Regions from separate parts of the Homo sapiens genome. Here regions 1, 2, 3, 4 and 6 are each linked to region 5. Evidence: promoter capture Hi-C in 16 types of primary human blood cells and fetal thymus (Javierre and others, 2016). All regions are on one chromosome and are shown on one strand. Each heading gives the region's core, a stretch centred on a gene start or on the middle of the fragment in contact. The rest is flanking DNA. Distances are from core to core; before and after follow the strand shown.

Region 1 (3,328 bases), core at 227-2,726, 190 kb after region 5:
TCTTAAGTTTATATAAGATTCAAAGAACAGTAGCTCTTCTGAAAAGGATGAATGTCTTCCCCTAGAAAAAACTAATTTCCCTATTAAAATGAACCTAAACAACAAGATTCTAAAATACAAAATATCACAGCAATTTTAATATTTTTAATAAAACTCTTTTCTTACTTTTAATATTCACAGAACTTGAATCACATTTGCAATACACTACACAGTAAAATACTCATTAACCTCACTTCTAGTGCCTCAGTGTCCAAACTATGTATCAATGATACAGGGAAAAAATTTTACATGCATTTATGAATAGAGCCACCCCATCACACAACACACTATTTACATGATATATTTCTTTCTTCTTTTTTTTGAGACAGAGTCTCGCTCTGTCGCCCAGGATGGAGTGCAGCGGCGTGATCTTGGCTCACTGTAACCTCTGCCTCCCAGGTTCAAATGATTCTCCTGCCTTAGCCTCCCAAGCAGCTGGGACTACAGGTGCGCAGCACCGCATCCGGCTAATTTTTGTATTTTTAATAGAGACAGGGTTTCACCATGTTGGCCAGCCTGGTCTCAAACTCTTGACCTCAGGTGATACGCCTGCCTCGGCCTCCCAGAGTGCTGGGATTACAGGCGTGAGCCACTGTGCTCAGCCTCTTTTTTTGTTGTTGTTTTGCTTTTTTTGAGACAAGAGTCTCACTCTGTTGTCCAGGCTGGAGTGCAGTGATGTGATCTTGGCTCAATGCAACCTCCACCTCCTGGGTTCCAGTGACTGGCATGCCTTAGCCTCCCAAGAAGCTGGGATTAAAGGTGCATGCCACCATGCTTGGCTAATTTTTGTCCTTTAGTAGAGACAGGGTTTCACCACACTGCCCAGGCTGGCCTCGAACTCCTGACCTCAGATGATCCACCCACCTGAGCCTCCCAAAGTGCTGGGATTACAGGCGGGAGGCACCATGCCTGGCTTACATGATATATTTCTACCTCAAGACTTCTATGTAATTTTTTTTATTTGAGACAGAGTCTCGCTCCGTCGCCCAGGCTGGAGTGCAGTGGAGCGATCCTGGCTCACTGCAAGCTCCGCCTCCCGGGTTCATGCCATTCTTCTACCTCAGCCTGCCAAGTAGCTGGGACTACAGGCGCCTGCCACCACGCCCGGCTAATTTTTTATATTTTTAGTAGAGATGGGCTTTCACCGTGTTAGCCAGGATGGTCTCGATCTCCTGACCTCATGATGCGCCCACCTCAGCCTCCCAAAATGCTGGGATTACAGGCATGAGCCACCATGCCCGGCCGACTTCTATGTGATTTTAATGAACAACTCAAAACATGACCCCAGAGTGTCTAAGAATTCAAACACAGTACAGATAATTTTTTTAAGAGAAGGGGTCTGGAGGCTGGGTGTAGTGGCTCATGCCTGTAATCCCAGCACTTTGGGAGGCTGAGGCGTGCGGACTGCTTGAGTTCAAAAGTTCAAGATCAGCTTGGGCAAAATGGCGAAAAAATACGAAAAATAGTTGGGCATTGCGGAGTGCGCCTGTAGTCCCAGCTACTCGGGAAGCTAAGGCAGAGGGAATGCTTGAGCCCAGGAGGTTGAGGCTGCAGTGAGCCATGGCTGTGCCACTGCACTCCAGCCTGGGTGACAGAGTAAGTCACTGTCTCAAAAGAGAGAGAGAGATTGAGAGAGAAACAGACAAACAGACCAAGAGATGTTGCCCAGGCTAGCTTGTACGGCTGGGCTCAGGCCTTCCTCCTGCCTCAACCTCCTGAGTAGCTGGGACAACAGGCACACGCCACCACACCCAGCTCCTAATTTTTAACTTATATATTCTCCAAAATAGAATGTTTTTCTTTTTAAATGGATATACAATAATTGTACATATTTATGGGATACATATGATATTGTGATACATGCATACCATGTAATTATCAGGACATCTATCACACCTCAAACATTCATCATTTCTCTGTGTTGAGAACATTCTAAATCTTCTAGCTACTTTGATATAGGTAATACAATTGTTTTTAATTAGTAATTCTACTGTGCTATCAAACACTAGAACTTATTCCTTCTAACTGTATTTTTATAAAAAAGTTTTGAAGACATGTCTTTTAGATGTACAATAGTTGTGTAGATAGTAGATATAAACGCATTTAGTGCTTTGGGGAACATATAGAATATACAATAATAATTCTGTAAATGGGCTGTAAGATTTGCCCTTAATTACTATTAAAAAGGTGAAAATTTTTAGTATGTGACATAAAACATAGTGAAATTAGTTCTTTATCCAATAATTTGTTTCAGCCTCGAACAATGAACATTCTTTTCACTTCTTTCTCCTAGGACAGACTTCTTTTCAAGATCTCCATGTTGAGAACTTGCCCCTTAATGGGGTCAATGTTACTTAACTGGGGATTAAAGAAGGTAGCATACATGAGCAAACAAATCATAAAGCTGAAAGAAAAAAAAGAACTAAATTCAACAAACACCTACTAAGATTTCAGGGAGCAGGTAGCAACTGAGCATGCATACAGCAAGCAGTTCACGTAGTAAAACTTACACTGAGCTATTAGGCTCAGCTATTAGGAGTCAGTAGGCAGGCAGATGAGCTTTTAAGGGTGAGTTAATAAACAGCAACAACAAAGTGAAAGGAAAAAACTCACCACTCTCTATGGAACATTTAACATGTGCTAATAATGCACTGTGCTAAAACCTAGTCACCTGGGAGCATCTTAAAAACAAAAATTCTTGGGCCCCAGGCCCCACCTACTGAATCAAAACTCTAGGATTGGGACTCAGATATCTGTAGTTTAATAAACTCTCCAAATGCTTCTGATGTTAAAGTTGAGAACCACAGTCTCATCTGAAAACAAGGTTTCTCAAAAAAAGTTAAGAACTAACAGAGCCAGGATTCAAACCAGAATCTGACTTTTAAAACTACTTTAAGCCACTCTGAGGTTCAGAAAATGCCAATTGTTTTACTTTACCTGGCAATATTATATTTCCATGTTAAGTAGCTTAAATTAGACAACAAGATTATTAAAGTTAGTCTGGTAGGCTTCAATACCAAGAAACCTGGCAACTAAACTCTGTCACTGTGTTCCAGATTACAGAGTTTAAAACCAGGAAACAGATATGACAGACGTTTAATATCTAATGAAATGGTATTTTGAAATATATATCATATCCATATGTCAAAGAGCTATAAAGGGTCTTGAACCATTAGATGCCTCATAAATGTGTTTAATCATAATTTTTACACAATGAAAAGTTGGCCCAGAGATAACAGCTATATTCCTATTAGTATAAATCAGTGATTTAACTATCTTCCATTTCGTA
Region 2 (3,139 bases), core at 54-2,553, 160 kb after region 5:
ACACCTGTAATCCCAACACTTTGGGAGGCCCAGGAGGGAGGATCACTTGAGGCCAGGAGTTTGAGACCAGCCTGGCCAACATGGTGAAACCCTGTCTCTACTAAAAATTAGTTGGGTGTGGTGGCGTGTGCCTGTAATCCCAGCTGCCGGGGAGGCTGAGGCAGGAGGTTTAACACAGGAGGCAGAGGCTGCAGTGAGCTGAAATCGTACCACTGCCCTCCAGCCTGGGGGACAGAGTGAGACTCCATTACCCACACACAAAAAAGATTCACCTCCCTAAATGTTTGAGTATGGAGATGGGTATTACAAATACTGCCTACAAAAGATTGTTCCAATATTTACAAAACGGATTAAATCGGGGAGGCAGAGAACATGAGTGACTATTGCAAAACAAGTGTGAATAAAGAGGTTCCAAGACTGGGTGAAAGCTGTAGAATGCAAGGAGAAGGGTGGGTCTAATTATAGCAGAGGAATAATTAGTGAGACTTTGTGATTAGATACATGCAGAACAAAGGAATTACAAAATAATTAAAAGTAACATTAACAAATTTAAGATTCTGACTTTCAAATGATTCAAATGACTATGTAGAGAGACCAAAGCTTCTTCAAGCCATTTCATTGCTGCCTGATTTTATTTTCCTAGTTATCAATTTGCTTCCTTCATTTGCTTTTTCAGTAATACTTAAGTACTCATTTCAAATTTTATCTTTCAACTAGAAACTTATTACCCTAATGTTCTCATTCACTTCTCTTCTGATATAAAGTAATTAAGAAAAGGTATTTCTGTCCCTGTTTTTTTTCATGCACAAGGAAATTCTGGCACTTTTCTGGTGTTTCTGTGAAACGGTTATGTGGGTTTTAGAAGGCAACAGGACGTAAAACCTGGGTTAAGAGCAGATGCTGGGTGGGTACGGTGGCTCATACCTGTAATCCCAGCACTTTGGGAGGCCGAGGCAGATGAACTGCTAGAGCTCAGGAGTTCAAGAACAGCCTGGGCAACATGGCAAAACTCCATCTCTAAAAAAAATACAAAAATTAGCCAGGCATGGTGGCATACACCAGTAATCTCAGCTACTCAGGAGGCCAAGGCGGGAGGATGGCTTGAACATGGGAGATGGAGGTTGCAGTGAGCCGAGATCGCACCACTGTACTCGAGTCTGGGTGACAGAGCAAGACCCTGTCTCAAAAAAAAAAAACAAAACAAAAACAGAGCAGATGCTGGATGACAAGCAATTTTTTGTTTGTTTTGAGATGGAGTTTAGCTCTTGTCGCCCAGCCTGGAGTGCAATGGCCCAATCCAGGCTCACTGCAACCTCTGCCTCCCTGGTTCAAGCAATTCCCCCACCTCAGCCTCCCAAGTAGCTGGGATTCCAGACATGCACCACCAAGCCCAGCAATTTTTTGTATTTTTAGTAGAGACAGGGTTTCACCATGTTGGCCAGGCTGGTCTTGAACTCCCGACCTCAGGTGATCTACTCACCTTGGCTTCCCAAAGTGCTGGGACTACAGGCGTGAGCCACCGTGCCTGGCCAACAAGAAATTTTTTAAAGGTAGATTTTTGCCAACATTAAAAAAAAATGTTTAGGTTTTTAAAAAGCAAAACTCATACACAATGTTTCAAGGTTGAAGGTTATTACCCAAAACTGTAGAGAATATTCTTTACAACTATAGTAGTTACATCCTGAATGTGTAAATGTGGTTTACAATTTAGCAGAAAAACCTAAGGAGTGTGCAGACTGTTCACTGCTGACGAAAGAAGATGGTGCTACCGTATTGGCCAGTAAGGGCTCAGTACCACTAGCAGAGAGACTGTGGTATAAATGAGCACTGGACTAGGAATCAGACACACCTGGGGATAAGTTGATTTCACCATTTAATTAGTTGAAGAACCCTTCCAAGTCTGTCTTCTTTACCTATGAAATGTGACGGTGAGAGCAGACCCATCTACCTTAAAGAATCGGCTAACACAATGTATGTGAAAGTAATTGGAAATTGTCTGGTAGTATCCAAGCTTAAGGTAGCAATATATTCTGACAACAGCCTGCAAATCAAGATGCAGAGTGGGTGAAGGGTTTAACTACATATCAGGAAAAACACTTCTGTAGTCGAAGGTCCCTAATAAGTTTTTAGCATGGACTATAGCTTTAAAAAAAATTACTTAAATACATTTAGGTTTCTATCACTTAGTCTCTTGTACCAAAATAATAATAATAATTTTTAAAGTAAATGATACATATCTGAAGTTAAATGTACAAATAACAAAATAAAAAACAAAAGGACATGAAAAAGACATTAACTGTGTATCAAGAAAACATCTACAACAGATAGGGAAATCATCCATATACTTCTTAAAAGATTATCAAGTTAAACCAGTAATGAGATTACTGCTGGTAAAAGTTCAATAACAATTACTATAAATACTGTAAACACTCATAGTCTATTTTATAAAAACAAATGCACAAAAAGTGACTGACTTATAAAAGTAATGACTGTGTCAATTACCCTCACTCCAAGTTATTTTCAATTTTCACTGTAAATACTTAACTGATTAAAGAACAAGGAGGAAGTCATTTTAACATGGACAAAGGGTGGGGTAAAAAAAGAGGCATGTTGGTAAATGTATTAATTGCAACCAACATGAATTTTACCCCTTAATCAGAACTAAATTCACTACCCACTCTCAGCCAAACAGAGATATCAATTTATTAAGAGACGCATTATTCAAAACGGCTGAGAAATGAAAGGATTGCCTAGGCTTCACTAGTCTATGAAATACAGTCCACTATTTCACTTTCTGTGGTTTCAGTTACCCAAAGTGAACCGTGGTCTGAAAATAGGTAAGTAGAGGATATTAAGATAGTTCAAGAGAAAGACAGAGAGGGAGAGAGCAAGCATGTCCGTGAGCAAGAGCACACATTAACAAAACTTTTATTACAGTACACTGTTACTGTTCTATTATTCATTATTATTAATCTCTTACTGTACTTAATTTATAAATTAACCTTTATCAGAGGTATGTATGTATAGCATATATATGGTTCAGTACTACCCCATTTTCAGGCATCCACTGTGGGTCTTGGAACATATCCCCCAAAGAGAAGAGGGGACTACCGTGCACAGAGACTAGATTCAAATTGGA
Region 3 (3,149 bases), core at 319-2,818, 230 kb after region 5:
AAATATTTGTGGATTTGTAAGTGAAACAAAGGCTCATTTCTCCACTCATAAGATCCAGGAGACAGAAGTAAGGGTAACAGCGAAAAAGCCTTCCCTGTAGGTAGGTTAAAGTTTTTCGTTAAGAGCCAAACCCATGTCTAAATTAAGTAGGAATCCAGAAGATTTTTCATCTCTTCTCTTAAAAATTTTTAAATTCTGCCCAGTCACAGGGAATAATGGATTGCAGTTAGACTCTCTGCCAGAGGCTCCCTCACTCAGAAAACACAAGTTCCGTTCCATGTCCCCAATGCACACAGAACAACGAGAATCTTTATATTCCACTTTCATGAAGCTTTGCAAACCTCAGTAAGAACAAACAGAAATCCCATTTATTCTAGTATTAACTGCATACTATAATACGCCAATAGTGTCTTAGGAGTTAGAAATATACAATAGTGGACAAAGTTTCTATTATCACGGAGCTTATATACTAATGGGAGGAATGTAATCAGTAAACAAATGAACAAATAGATGGTGGCAAGTGCTAAAAATTTCTTAGCTCTTGGAAGGGATGGAGCTATGTGTTTGAGGGAGGTTGCTAGGAAGGAGCCCCACATAAAATGACTTTTAAGAATTATGGCAACAGTGGTAGTGTGTCACCAGTGGCCTGGAGGCCTATGGAACTGACCATCATGATCAACTACCACCTTCCACATAGTGAGTAAGTGTGAAGGCCTCCCATTCATTCTATATCTCACATGTCTGCTCCACCTGTGCCAAACCAAAGACACATCAAACGGGATCGTCTCTTGGTAATTTTGCAAAGCCTCTAGTTTTACGTATATAGTACCAGACGGTGGAAATCTCATTTATTTATTCACATGCTTCACAATTAAAACAATCTGATCACTTTAAGTGACTCAAAATTACACGAGCCATTTATTACACGATTAAGTGACGTAACTGTAGCTAGTAAGCATGTGAAGACCCTGTAAGCCAGGGGTTCCCAACCCCCAGGCCGTGGACCATTACTGGCTCATGACCTGTTAGGAACTGGGCCACACAGTAGCTGGTGAGCTAGGAAGCATTACTGCCTGAGCTCTGCCTCCTATCAGATCAGCAGGGGCATTAGATTCTCATAGGAGCGCGACCCCTATTGTGAACTGCACATGCAAGGGATCTAGGCTGTGCACTCCTTATGAGAATCTAATGCCTATGATCGAGGTGGAACAGTTTCATCCCGAAACCATCCCTCCACACACCCCCTGCCAGTCTGTGGAAAAACTGTCTTCCATGAAACCACTCCTTGGTGCCAAAAAGGTTGGGGACCGTTGCTGTAAGCCACTGAGTAACAAGTGAAAGCCATTTCTGAAAAATCATTTTTCAAACTGCTGGAAACCAACTGCAGTAATGGCGGATGTAGCACCAAATAATAACCTATCTACATGGCTTTAAATTTTGAAATAATACTCTCTAAGTGGAAAATATGAGCAATTTTAATACATTATTAATATATCACTATAAAATAAAGCCATTAATAAATCACTACAAAATAAAGCCAGAGTTATTTTTCCTAATAAGTTTAATATTACGCCTTTAAGTTTCTACAAGAAGGAAAAATCACCAGGATTATTCTACAAGAAGAAATAATCACCAGGACAAAAAATATCTCTATCCTCATACACCTCATAACCATACACCTGTTCTTATAAGATTCCTAGAAGGGTACAGTGGTATGCACCTGTAGTCCCAGCCACTCAGGAGGTTGAGGTGGGTGGATCACTTCAGCCCAAGAGTTTGAGGCTGTAGTATGCAATGATGACAACTGTGAATAGCCACTGAACTCCAGCCTAGGCAACATAGTGAGACCCTGTCTTGAAATTCAAAAAAAAAAAAAAAAAAAAAAAAAAGACTCCATATAACCCACATTCACCTATTTCCTATTTCTCAGCACTAAAAAGTCTGACAATTTTACTTCCTGACAAATGTCTTTCTTAAAAGGAATTATAAAATTTTATATAGATCTATATTTATACAATATCCCATTTATTTTCAAAACCACATTCTATCTATGAATGGATATATGAAGAGTCTCCTAAATTTCTTAAAGAGTGTATCTTTATCCTGGCTTGTGTGAGAAAGTAATATACATTTTAAGTGGTCTAGACAAGTAGGAAGGGAAATTTAATCATCTTTCTCCCATCATTCTACAGTACCAATCTTTCACCAACTTTTTTTTGCTATGATGCCAAACGATCTTCAAATAAACCTTCTACCCAACCACAGCTTTTCAAGTTAATCTCTTCCTAAACTTGACAAACACTGGAGAATGTTAACTAGTTTTTACTTTCATTGCTACATTAGATACTCTCCAGAGTGACTGGGATTGGCAGGTATCTTGTTTTTAACTCTTTCTACAAGATATTTCATTAAAGTTAATTTCTCCCATTAAAAATCTTCTGGCTCACATTTATTTGATAGTCTGTCCTAAGAGCTATTCATTTTCAATATCTGCTTCAAATACTGATAATGAAGATTTTAATTTGCCATCACTGAAGTTCTGCTCTAGACTCTCTGGCTTCCATGCATGGTCCCATCCATTTCCATGTGCTACAACTGTACTATAACAAGACTAACCAACACATCAGAATGAGCAAAAAAAATCTAGAATCAAATTCGAGATTCATGATTCACCATTGTGATTTCAGGCATGTTAATTAGTCACTCAGTTTCCATTTCAACATTTAAAAAATAGGACTAATACTTAATTTTCACAACATCTTGGCTTAGTAAGGTGATATATTTAGGGTATTTTAAAAGTACCCTAAAGCTTTAAAGCATCATTACAAATATTTTCATTTCTTTCTTACCATCATTTTGTATTGATGTTTTCCCTCATTTTAGGAGACAACTCCTCTATCACCTTTCCAATACACTGTCATGAAAATAGCTCAAACTCAATTACTGCTGCAAAACCTTCATTATCTAATGCCCAATTTCTTCATCAACTGGGAAGTGTTACCATAGATCCTTGCACTCAATCTTAAGAGTGGCAAAATCTTTATAATGCACATATGATTTCTTTCTTTCTTAATAAAGACAGGGTCTTACTCTGTCACCCAGACTGGAGTAGCTGGGACTACAGGTACATGCCAGCACATGCAGCCAAT
Region 4 (2,903 bases), core at 337-2,836, 210 kb after region 5:
GAACCACAATCCCATTCCTCAAATCAAGCAACTTTATATAATTTTTATACTCCTAAAATCTTTAGCTGTATTTAGAACCATAACTTGTATGTGCCAACCTTATAAAAAGTATAAAAAATTACTGTGTAATATAAGAAATGGCAACATGCAAGTTCAGGGTGTAACAAAAACAATTATATGAATGTTTTCAATGAAACTTTCTAAATGAATACATAAATCATTCTAAGATTTTGTTTCATCATGACCTTGACTTGAAAACTTTAGCAACATAAAATCTAATCAATATTATTTTCTAAAAACACCAAAAACTTTGTGTTTTAGTTATTACCTGGCTCAAGGAAGTCTATAAATTTTTGCTCCTCATTGAAAAGTGAACCCATTTTATCTCATATTCATCTAACAAATTTAATTACTTGGTCTTTGCTACCTTTAAAAGACAATACCAAAACCAACCAAAATGTAAACTAACTGGATTTCAACATCACCAGTTCATTTATTTAGCAAAATATTTATTGAGTGCCTATTAAGTACCAGTGGAGAAAAATCAGTGAACAAAATAGAAAAAAAAATACTGCTCCCATATGACTTCATACCTACTACTGTACACGTCAGGTGTTACATGCTCACATTCCTCAGCTCTTCGGTTCATATGGTTCTATCTACTATACCCCATCCTAAGACGGTAAACACCTCTCATCCTTCAAGGCTCAACCTCTCGTCTACATAAAAAGAGTGAAATTATTAACACCTTACCACTAGAATTGCTTAATTTCCATCTTAAGAAAATGATAAATCAGTCGCTAATAAGACACAAAAAACCTACTTGGATATATGCATAAACTCTGCCTAGAGCACTGCTCTGCATCTTGTTTTCCATAGACTTTTAAAGTTAAAATGAACTGAATGAGGGAGGAAGTGAAAATTAAAGGATGAGTAGGCAGTTTCTTCCATGCCCCTGAAAATAGAGACACTCCATTTTTATCTATAATATATATCTGGCTTCTGTTTAAGATTTCAAAAAGAGGCCAGGTGTGGTGGCTCATGCCTGTAATCCCAGCACTTTGGGAGGCTTAGGAGGATCGCTTTAGACCAAGAGTTCAAGACCAACCTGGTCAACAGAGCAAGAGCCCATCTCTACAAAATATTTAAGAATAAAAATATTAGCCAGGCGTGGTGGTGCACATCTGTAATCCCAGCTGCTCAGGAGGCTGAAGGGAGGACCGCTTGAGCCAGGAGTTAGAGGCTGCAGTGAGCTACGATCATACCACTGCACCCAGCCTAGGTGACAGAGCAAGCCCCGGTCTCTCTTACTCCAGCCTCAGCAACAGAACCAGATCCTGTCTCAAAGAAAAAAAAAATTTTTTTTTCAAGAGAGGGGGTCTACTGTTTTAATTTTTTTTCCTTAAGTTAGAGCGCCGTAACTCTTGTTAAAATATAATGCATTTTGTAACAATGGGTCCTACATATAGATTACTGGTCTTCTAGAATGTCTGGAAGATAGGGTATTAAATTCTTTTTAAGCAATACCTGCACTTACCAAAGGGAAACAAGTATTGGACTGAACACCTCCAAACTCAAATACAGCCAGTCACATTAAAAAAAAAAAAAAATTCCCCTGATCTTTTTTTTTTTTTACACCTCCAGAAGAACCACAGTTCAGGCCCTGATTAACTCTACACTAGATAACCAGAACAACTGAAACAGTCTCAGCATCTTCAAGATTTGGTTTACTCTGATCTAACTTGACTAAGCTATGATGCTTTCCTGGTAACACATAATTCCCTCTCCCCTCCTCTCTCTACTGCATTATAAAATTCCAACTCTATAAAAAATTTTTGTGCTTGATTTTGGCTCTGAACAGCTTCTTGAGGGCTATCTGCCACTACATGTTCTCAAATACACCATTCATATATATTCTATTCACATTCATTTGCTCTGTAAATCTTAAATACTCATATCCATGTGAATGACTTTCACATCCATATACATCTGTGTATCTGTCCTTACTTTCACATTCATGTATTGTACCTGTGCTTAAGCCAACTCATCTTCTCATCCTTCTCTTGAAGCCCAGCACAAATCTCACCTTCTCTAAAGACATTTCCCTGATTGAGCCTCACTGTTGAATATTCCCAATTCATTTGGCATATCCTTTATGAGGTTCTCCCTAAAGCTAACATTCTATAATGCTAACAGCCTAGTTACAGAACTAAGTAAAACAGATCCCATTAAGACAATGTGCATGGACAGCTATAACCACATTATGTCCATTTCAAGTTACTAAATAAAAAATAGCAGGCCGGGTGTGGTGGCTCACGCCTGTAATCCCAGCACTTTGGGAGGCCGAGGCAAGCAGATCATGAGGTCAAGAGATGCAGACCATCCTGGCCAACATGGTGAAACCCCATCTCTACTAAAGATACACAAAGTAGCTGGGCGTGGTGACATGCGCGGGTAGTCCCAGCTACTCGGGAGGCTGAGGCAGGAGAATCGCTTGAACCCGGGAGGCGGAGGTTGCAGTGAGCCAAGATCATGCCACTGCACTCCAGCCTGGTGACAGAACGAGACTTCGTCTCAAAAAAACATAAATAAGAAAATAGCTACGAATATGAAGGAACAATTCATCTCAACAAATTATATCCACTTTAGCTACTAAAACATGTAATATTTCAACTACATTTCTTGGAATGAAACATAATATAATAACAATGAAAGCAAATATTACATAGCATTTCTTTTTTTGTTTGTTTTTTTGAGACAGAGTCTAGCTTTGTCACCCAGGCTGGAGTGCAGTGGCATGATCTTGGCTCACTGCAACCTTCGCCTCCTGGGTTCAAGCGATTCTCCTGCCTCAGCCTCCTGAGTAGCTGGGATTACAGGTGTGCACCACCAATCCCGGCTAA
Region 5 (3,004 bases), core at 161-2,660:
GTAAGTGCCCACTAAACAGCAGTCAACATTGCCCTGCTGCCGTCCCCACACCTCTTCTCCTTCCTAGCTGCTCTTGATGGGTTCTGCAATCTGATTTCACCTGGATACCACACTAAGGGTGAGAAGGGGCAGAACTTCAGGGGTGGAGGAAAGTGAGGGAAGGGAAATGCTGGAGACCTTCCATAGAAATCCAGCCAAGTCCTCAGCTCCTTTCAATCATCCTACTCTATCTGGCTGCTCCATCCAGCAGACAGCAGGGGTCACCATCCTGGTGGGGAATGGCTGCCAACAAGGGGACGGGAAGCTGGATGGCAGTTTGCATCCACCCCACCTTCCAGGGTCTATCTGTCTGAAGCCCCACCGGGCTTCCTCTGCACATCCCTGCCGGGCTGTGTGGCTCAGGGGGCTGACAGGGTGATTCATAGCCTGTTCTTATCTAGGCTTCTATCTCAACCCTGCGCCCAAAGCCCTGGAGGCTGCTGGTCACAAACCAGCACTAAATGAAAAGAAGAACTTTTCATTAAGGCAGGAAGTGGAGCCCCTCAAGGTCAAAGGGGATTTATAAAGAGAGGAGGAAAGAAAGGGAAGACGCGGCAGGATGGGTGCAGAGAAAGAGAGACCCACTTCCTATATGCTGGTGGAGCCCTGTGTCTTAGACGCTAAAAACAGTCGCTTTTCCACTTCAAAGGATGATAAAGCCCACTCGTGTAGTTTATAGCTCGCCGTGGGACGAGGTGTGGGTATGGAAGAGAATTCCAAAACACGTCTTATTTTCAAAGGAGAAATCATCATCCCCTGGCCGGCCCTTCCCAACACCCCACCTGTAAACAGGTGCTGACGCTCCTACCTTTCTGCACCTGAGCAATCTGGGGGCAGTTACTCTGCAGCCAGGTCTCCCCAGCACCCAGCCCCAAGCCCAGGTCAGTCCCTGAAAGCCCTAGAAAACGCGATAGCTCAGCAGAACCCTCGCCTACCCGGGCATCCCAGCTTCCTGGCCGCCTGGGCAGCGGAGGTGGCTCTGGAGTAGGTGGGAAACTGAGGAAAGGAGCTTTCCCCGTGCCAAAACGCAGTTCCCATTTTAGAACTGGTTAGACTAAGGAACAACATTCTACACCACCTCCCTCACTTAACAGAGGAGGAAGCAGAGACCAAGAGAGGGAAACAAAGTTGCCCGAGGTAACACAGCGAGTGGGCCAAGTAGAGACTGGAACCCGAGTGCGCACCTCCGAGTCGCTGCCGGGCAGGGAGCGCGCCTCGCCGTCTCTCTTGTCTTCTGGCCCCCAGCCCTCGGCCTGGCGGTGCAAACCGCGCAGCCCCGGGCGCGGCGCGTTACCTTCCCCCGGGCAAGGCGTTGCGAGCCTTCACTCTCCCGACGGACGCTGGCGGCACGGCCCGGGTGTCGCCCGGCACTGTCAACGCAGAGCGGCGTGCGCGAGTCCCTCCCCGCTACCCCCGCCCCCGGCGGGCGGTGCGGTGGGGCCGGTCCCGGGTGCTCGGGCCAATGGCGCTTCGCCCGCTCCCCGCCCCGGCCCGCCCCGGCCTCCTCGCCCGGCACACAGCGCCTGCCAGCCCCTGCCCTCTCCCCTTCCCTCCCTTCGCCCTCCGCCCCCGCCTGCTGCTTCTCTCCGGTTCCTAGCCTCCTTCTCAAGTGTACCTTGCCCCGAAACAACCTGTTTTCTGTGCAAATAAAGCAGCACTGTTGTTATTGTTATTATTATTTTTATCACGGCGCGTTAGGGGGCCTTGGAGCCCGAGAGTGTGGAGCACTAGGAGCCTCTGCACTCCGAGAAGGGACAGCCACCGCGCAGGGAAAGGGGCGCGGAGGGTATGGAGCCCGGTCATGGGGTAACTTGCTTTAACCCTCGGGACGTCAATTTCCTCACATGTGAAATAGAAGAAGGGGGGAAAAAAGTTGTTGAGAGGACTAAATGAAGTGATGCTTTAAAATACAATAATACCTAGAGAAAGGTGAGGGCGTCATGCACTGCCTGAGCTACTTACTGGGGTATGCACAGAGGACTGGTAAGCTCCTGGAAGACGCTGTGTGGCAGGGAGGCAGACAATGCAATACAGTAAATACAATATTGTGGTCGGGCGCGGTGGCTCACACCTGTAATCCCAGCATTATGGGAGGCCGAGGCAGGTGGATAACCCGAGGTCAGGAGTTCGGGACCAGCCCGGCCAACATAGCAAAACTCTGTTCTAATTAGAAAAGAAAAAAGAAAAATTAGCTGGGTGTGGTGGCGAGCGCCCGTAGTCCCAACTACTTAGGAAGCTGAGGCAGGAGAATCGCTTTAACCCGAGAGGTGGAGGCTGCCGTGAGCCAAGATCGCACCACTGCACCCCATCCTGGGTGACAGAGCAAGACTCTGTCTCAAAAAAATAAATAAAATAATTTAAAAATTGTATCACGACCTATTTTTTACAAGTTACCCATGATGGGGCCAGCCCAGGCAAACCTCTGAAGGAGATGAACCTTAAAGCCTTTTTCCTTATCATTTCCTGGACTAGTGTTGTCCATTTAACTGAGGGTGGCCCAGGTCTGCCTTTGGTTCTTCCAAAGGTCTTCCTTCTCCCAAACTTACAAATACTTATCCCCAAGGGCTTCAGTTAGTGCCCAGTGCAGGCTGCTAGCCTGGCCCAAGAGTCCTGGCACTGTGCAGAGATGTGTATTCTGGCTTCCTTCAGCCTTTGAGAGCCTGGTGTGTCCCTGTGCTGGGTGAGCATGCCACATGCAAAAGAGGAATAAGCCACTGGTCTTGCCTTTGAAGAAACAAATTTGTAAATAATTTCATTTTAGGGTAAGTGTTATAATAGGTTGACAAAGTGTTGTAGAGTCACTACGCTGAAGGAGGGGGACAATAAAAAATACAAATGTGACCAAGGTAGGTCTTGAAGGAGGGCTACAAATTAGGTCAGATTGAAGGGGTGACAGAAGACTGGGCACAGAGAGGCAGGCAGAGACATGGAGATGCCTGTCATATGTCACGGCTATTGCACAGGA
Region 6 (3,027 bases), core at 276-2,775, 170 kb before region 5:
GTATACGTTCTTTACAAGCACACATGGACCACTTACCAAGATGGACCAGTATCTACTTTATAAATCTCAATAAACTTAAAAGGATTCAAATCATACAAAGTATATTTTCTGACCAGAATGGAACTGAATTGGAAATCAATAGCAAAATGGTATCTAGAAAATTGGAACTATTACTAAATTAACACACTTCTAAATAATCCACAGGCCAAAGAGGAAAGCAAAGTGAAATTAGAAATTCTTTTGAACTGAATTAAAATAATACAGAACATTTAAAAATCTATGGATACAGTTAAAGCAGCACTTGGAAATTTGTAATGATAAGCACATATGTTAGAGGGGAAAAAGATCTCAAATCAATTACCTCAGGTATGTTTTTAAGAAACGAGAAAAAGAGGAGCAACTTAAATCCTAGATAAGAATAAGAAAGAAACAATATAGAACAGAGGGGGGAAGAAATAGAAAACAGAAACCAATAGAAAAGAACCAATAAAACCAAAAGGTGGTTATTTGAGATTTTCAAAAATAATAAACAATTAGCATAAAGAAGGGAAGACATAAGTGACCAATATCAAGAGAGATGTTTCACCACAGATTCTACAGATGTTAAAATATAACAAGAAAATATTTTTGAACAATTTCAGCCAATAAACTTGAGAACTTAGGTGAAATGAATAAATGAATATTTGATCTTGTTTTGTGAAGATTTGTGAAGTTCACTCAAAAAGAAATAGATAATCAGGGTAGCCATATATCTACCATGAGTATTGAATTTATAGTTAAATCCTCCCTACAAGGAAAACTCAGATCCAGAAATCTTCACTGGTAAAGTCTACCAAACATGTAAGGAAGAAATAATAATATGATGCAAACTCTCCAAAAAAATTGAAGAGATGGGAACACTTGCCAACTCATTCAATAAGTCCAGCAATATCCTGATATCAAAGCCAGATAAAAACATTTTGAGGAAAGAAACTACAGCCTAATACTCCTCATGAACATTGATATAAAAACTTTTGACAAACTTTTAGCAAACCAAATACAAAAATATATATAAAGAATAGTACCTCATGGCCAAGCGGGGCTTATTCCAGGATTGCAAAATTGACTTAACATTTAAAAAAATCACTCAATGTTTTGTTCCACCAAACCCACAGCAGGAGTCACCCCAAAAGTGACAGCAGGGGAGTTTCCACAAGGGAGTGTCCAGAGTTATCCTGAGACTGGGCTGGTTGGGATTCAAAGAAAGAAGCACTAAACACCAGGGTCATCAGTCCAAAGCATTTATTAGGGGAAATTTTATATGACTGAACTGCAGCAATCCTCACCACAAACAGCAAGAGAAAAGGCTAGCAGTTCACAACAAGGGGATTAGGATATGGAGTTTATATGAGGGCTTAGGAATTTGGCTCAGGGCCAGGGCCAGTTTATTTTAGTGTTTTGGGCAACAACCTAGATACCTTTATCAGTGCCTGGAAATGTTTCAGGTCTCGGTTTGGATTCAAGCCTGCTAAGAAAAATCTGCAGCTGGCCAGGTCACAAAGCAGTCAAGGCGCTCTGTGATTTTTGGTCAGGACACGGAAAGATGGCTGGGGAACGTGGAGCCCCTACACAATATAATTCACTGTATCAACAGACTAAACAAGGAAAAAAAACAATCATCTGAATAGATACAGAAAAAGCATTTGACAAAATCCAACATCTGTTCCTGATAAAAACTCCCAGCATGAGGAAAAGAAGGGAACTTCCTTAAGATTTTGAAGAGCATTTACCAAAAAACCTATAATTAACATGATGATGGTGGGAAACTGAATGACTTCCCCCTAAGATCAGGGAAAATGCAAGAATGTCTGCTTTATTGCTTCTAGCCAACATTGTATGGGAGAGTCTAGCCAGATTGGAAAAGAAGAAATAAAATTATCTATGTAATTTTTAAAATCCTATTTGATTTAGCAAGGTTGTAGGTTATAAAATGTAAAAGAAAAAATAAATTGTAACTCTCCAGATAAGCAATTAACAATAAGACCAAGCAATTTGTCCATTTTGTCTAAATTGTCGAACACAGTGGGTTAAAGTTGTTCATAATATCCTCTCCTTATCCTGTTAATGTGTGTAGAATCTGTATTAATGTCCCTTCTTTCAGTCCAAAAAGATTTAGTTGTTTGGTCTCTTTTTCTTTTGATTAGTCTTATTAGGGCTTATTGATTTTATTAATATTTTCAAAGAATCACAGTTGGTCTTTTCTCTATTGTTTTTGTCTTTTCCCTTTCATTTATTTCCACTCTTACCTTTATTATTCCTTCCTCTTTGATTTCCTTTTTGCTTAATTTGATTTTTTTAAAAAAATATTGATTTGGTTGATTTTGCCCTTGATTCTAGGGCATAACCCTTAGTCATTGGATGTAGTCATTAATTCTAAGATGCTGCTCAGTGGAATGTCCAAAGTTTTCACCCGGTCTGTATAACTTGGAAATATTTAAATTTCCGATATTTGAATTTAAATATTCAAAAATACACTGTCTTCCCAGCATCAGATGACTGCTGAAATTTCACTTTATCTCTTCCAGTCTTCCAACTGTTGCTGTCCATTGGGTTCTTTGGGTCTTACCACATGCATGTACTGTTATAATGTCAGCCAAAAATTTGAGGGGATTTTTTAGACAGATTTTGGGGTTCCCTTTTCAAGGTTCCTGCCCCAATTTTCAGTTGATCTGGCATTTCCAAATTTCAACTTCTGAGTGTTTTAGAATGGGAAGAATGCTGCTTTATACTGACACTCGATATTCCCCATGTACTGCACAGACTAATGCCCTCATGAAAAAAAGCTGGATAAATGTGGATCTTACCCACTATTTTTCCCATCTTTCAAGAATTGTATACCTTCCTGTGTTTTCATGCTATTTTGGTTGCTTTCCAGGGTCTTTGAAAAGAATCTCTTCCTTGTCCAGAGTTTATAGTTGTTATTTGCAACAGGGTCTGTCCAACATAAGCTACTGTGTCACTTCCAGAAGCTAGAAGTCCCTCTTTTAT

What was found. Contacts are between HindIII fragments. The CHiCAGO score rates a contact against its expected background, and 5 or more counts as called.
Region 1: a fragment that was not itself captured here is called in contact with the fragment with the promoter of SYTL2 in region 5 in 3 of 17 cell types (naive CD4 T cells, total CD4 T cells and non-activated CD4 T cells); the score reaches 5.8 in naive CD4 T cells.
Region 2: a fragment that was not itself captured here is called in contact with the fragment with the promoter of SYTL2 in region 5 in 5 of 17 cell types (naive CD4 T cells, naive CD8 T cells, total CD8 T cells and 2 more); the score reaches 7.7 in naive CD4 T cells.
Region 3: a fragment that was not itself captured here is called in contact with the fragment with the promoter of SYTL2 in region 5 in 1 of 17 cell types (total CD8 T cells); the score reaches 5.2 in total CD8 T cells.
Region 4: a fragment that was not itself captured here is called in contact with the fragment with the promoter of SYTL2 in region 5 in 1 of 17 cell types (activated CD4 T cells); the score reaches 5.1 in activated CD4 T cells.
Region 6: a fragment that was not itself captured here is called in contact with the fragment with the promoter of SYTL2 in region 5 in 6 of 17 cell types (naive CD8 T cells, naive CD4 T cells, total CD8 T cells and 3 more); the score reaches 10.3 in naive CD8 T cells.

The regions. Positions count from the first base shown.
Region 1 is chr11:85,997,128-86,000,455 of GRCh38, forward strand. All of the region lies in intron 11 of PICALM (phosphatidylinositol binding clathrin assembly protein), which reads right to left. Among named protein-coding and RNA genes, the nearest start is that of PICALM, 70 kb to the right of the region's middle. The HindIII fragment of the contact is 4,873 bases long and covers 1-3,328 here.
Region 2 is chr11:85,970,552-85,973,690 of GRCh38, forward strand. All of the region lies in intron 19 of PICALM (phosphatidylinositol binding clathrin assembly protein), which reads right to left. Among named protein-coding and RNA genes, the nearest start is that of PICALM, 97 kb to the right of the region's middle. The HindIII fragment of the contact is 1,411 bases long and covers 599-2,009 here.
Region 3 is chr11:86,043,657-86,046,805 of GRCh38, forward strand. All of the region lies in intron 1 of PICALM (phosphatidylinositol binding clathrin assembly protein), which reads right to left. It overlaps LOC124902730 (a long non-coding RNA gene), which reads right to left. Exons shown (of 2, transcript XR_007062822.1): 1 at 1-3,149. Among named protein-coding and RNA genes, the nearest start is that of PICALM, 24 kb to the right of the region's middle. The HindIII fragment of the contact is 2,478 bases long and covers 330-2,807 here.
Region 4 is chr11:86,022,823-86,025,725 of GRCh38, forward strand. The region is part of intron 3 of PICALM (phosphatidylinositol binding clathrin assembly protein); the gene reads right to left. Among named protein-coding and RNA genes, the nearest start is that of PICALM, 45 kb to the right of the region's middle. The HindIII fragment of the contact is 4,109 bases long and covers 1-2,903 here.
Region 5 is chr11:85,809,731-85,812,734 of GRCh38, forward strand. SYTL2 (synaptotagmin like 2) reads right to left here and starts at 1,411. Exons shown (of 20, transcript NM_206927.4): 1 at 1,224-1,411. RefSeq lists a silencer at 1,370-1,549. The HindIII fragment of the contact is 7,624 bases long and covers 1-3,004 here.
Region 6 is chr11:85,642,046-85,645,072 of GRCh38, forward strand. No RefSeq gene overlaps it. Among named protein-coding and RNA genes, the nearest start is that of TMEM126A, 4.4 kb to the right of the region's middle. The HindIII fragment of the contact is 8,633 bases long and covers 1-3,027 here.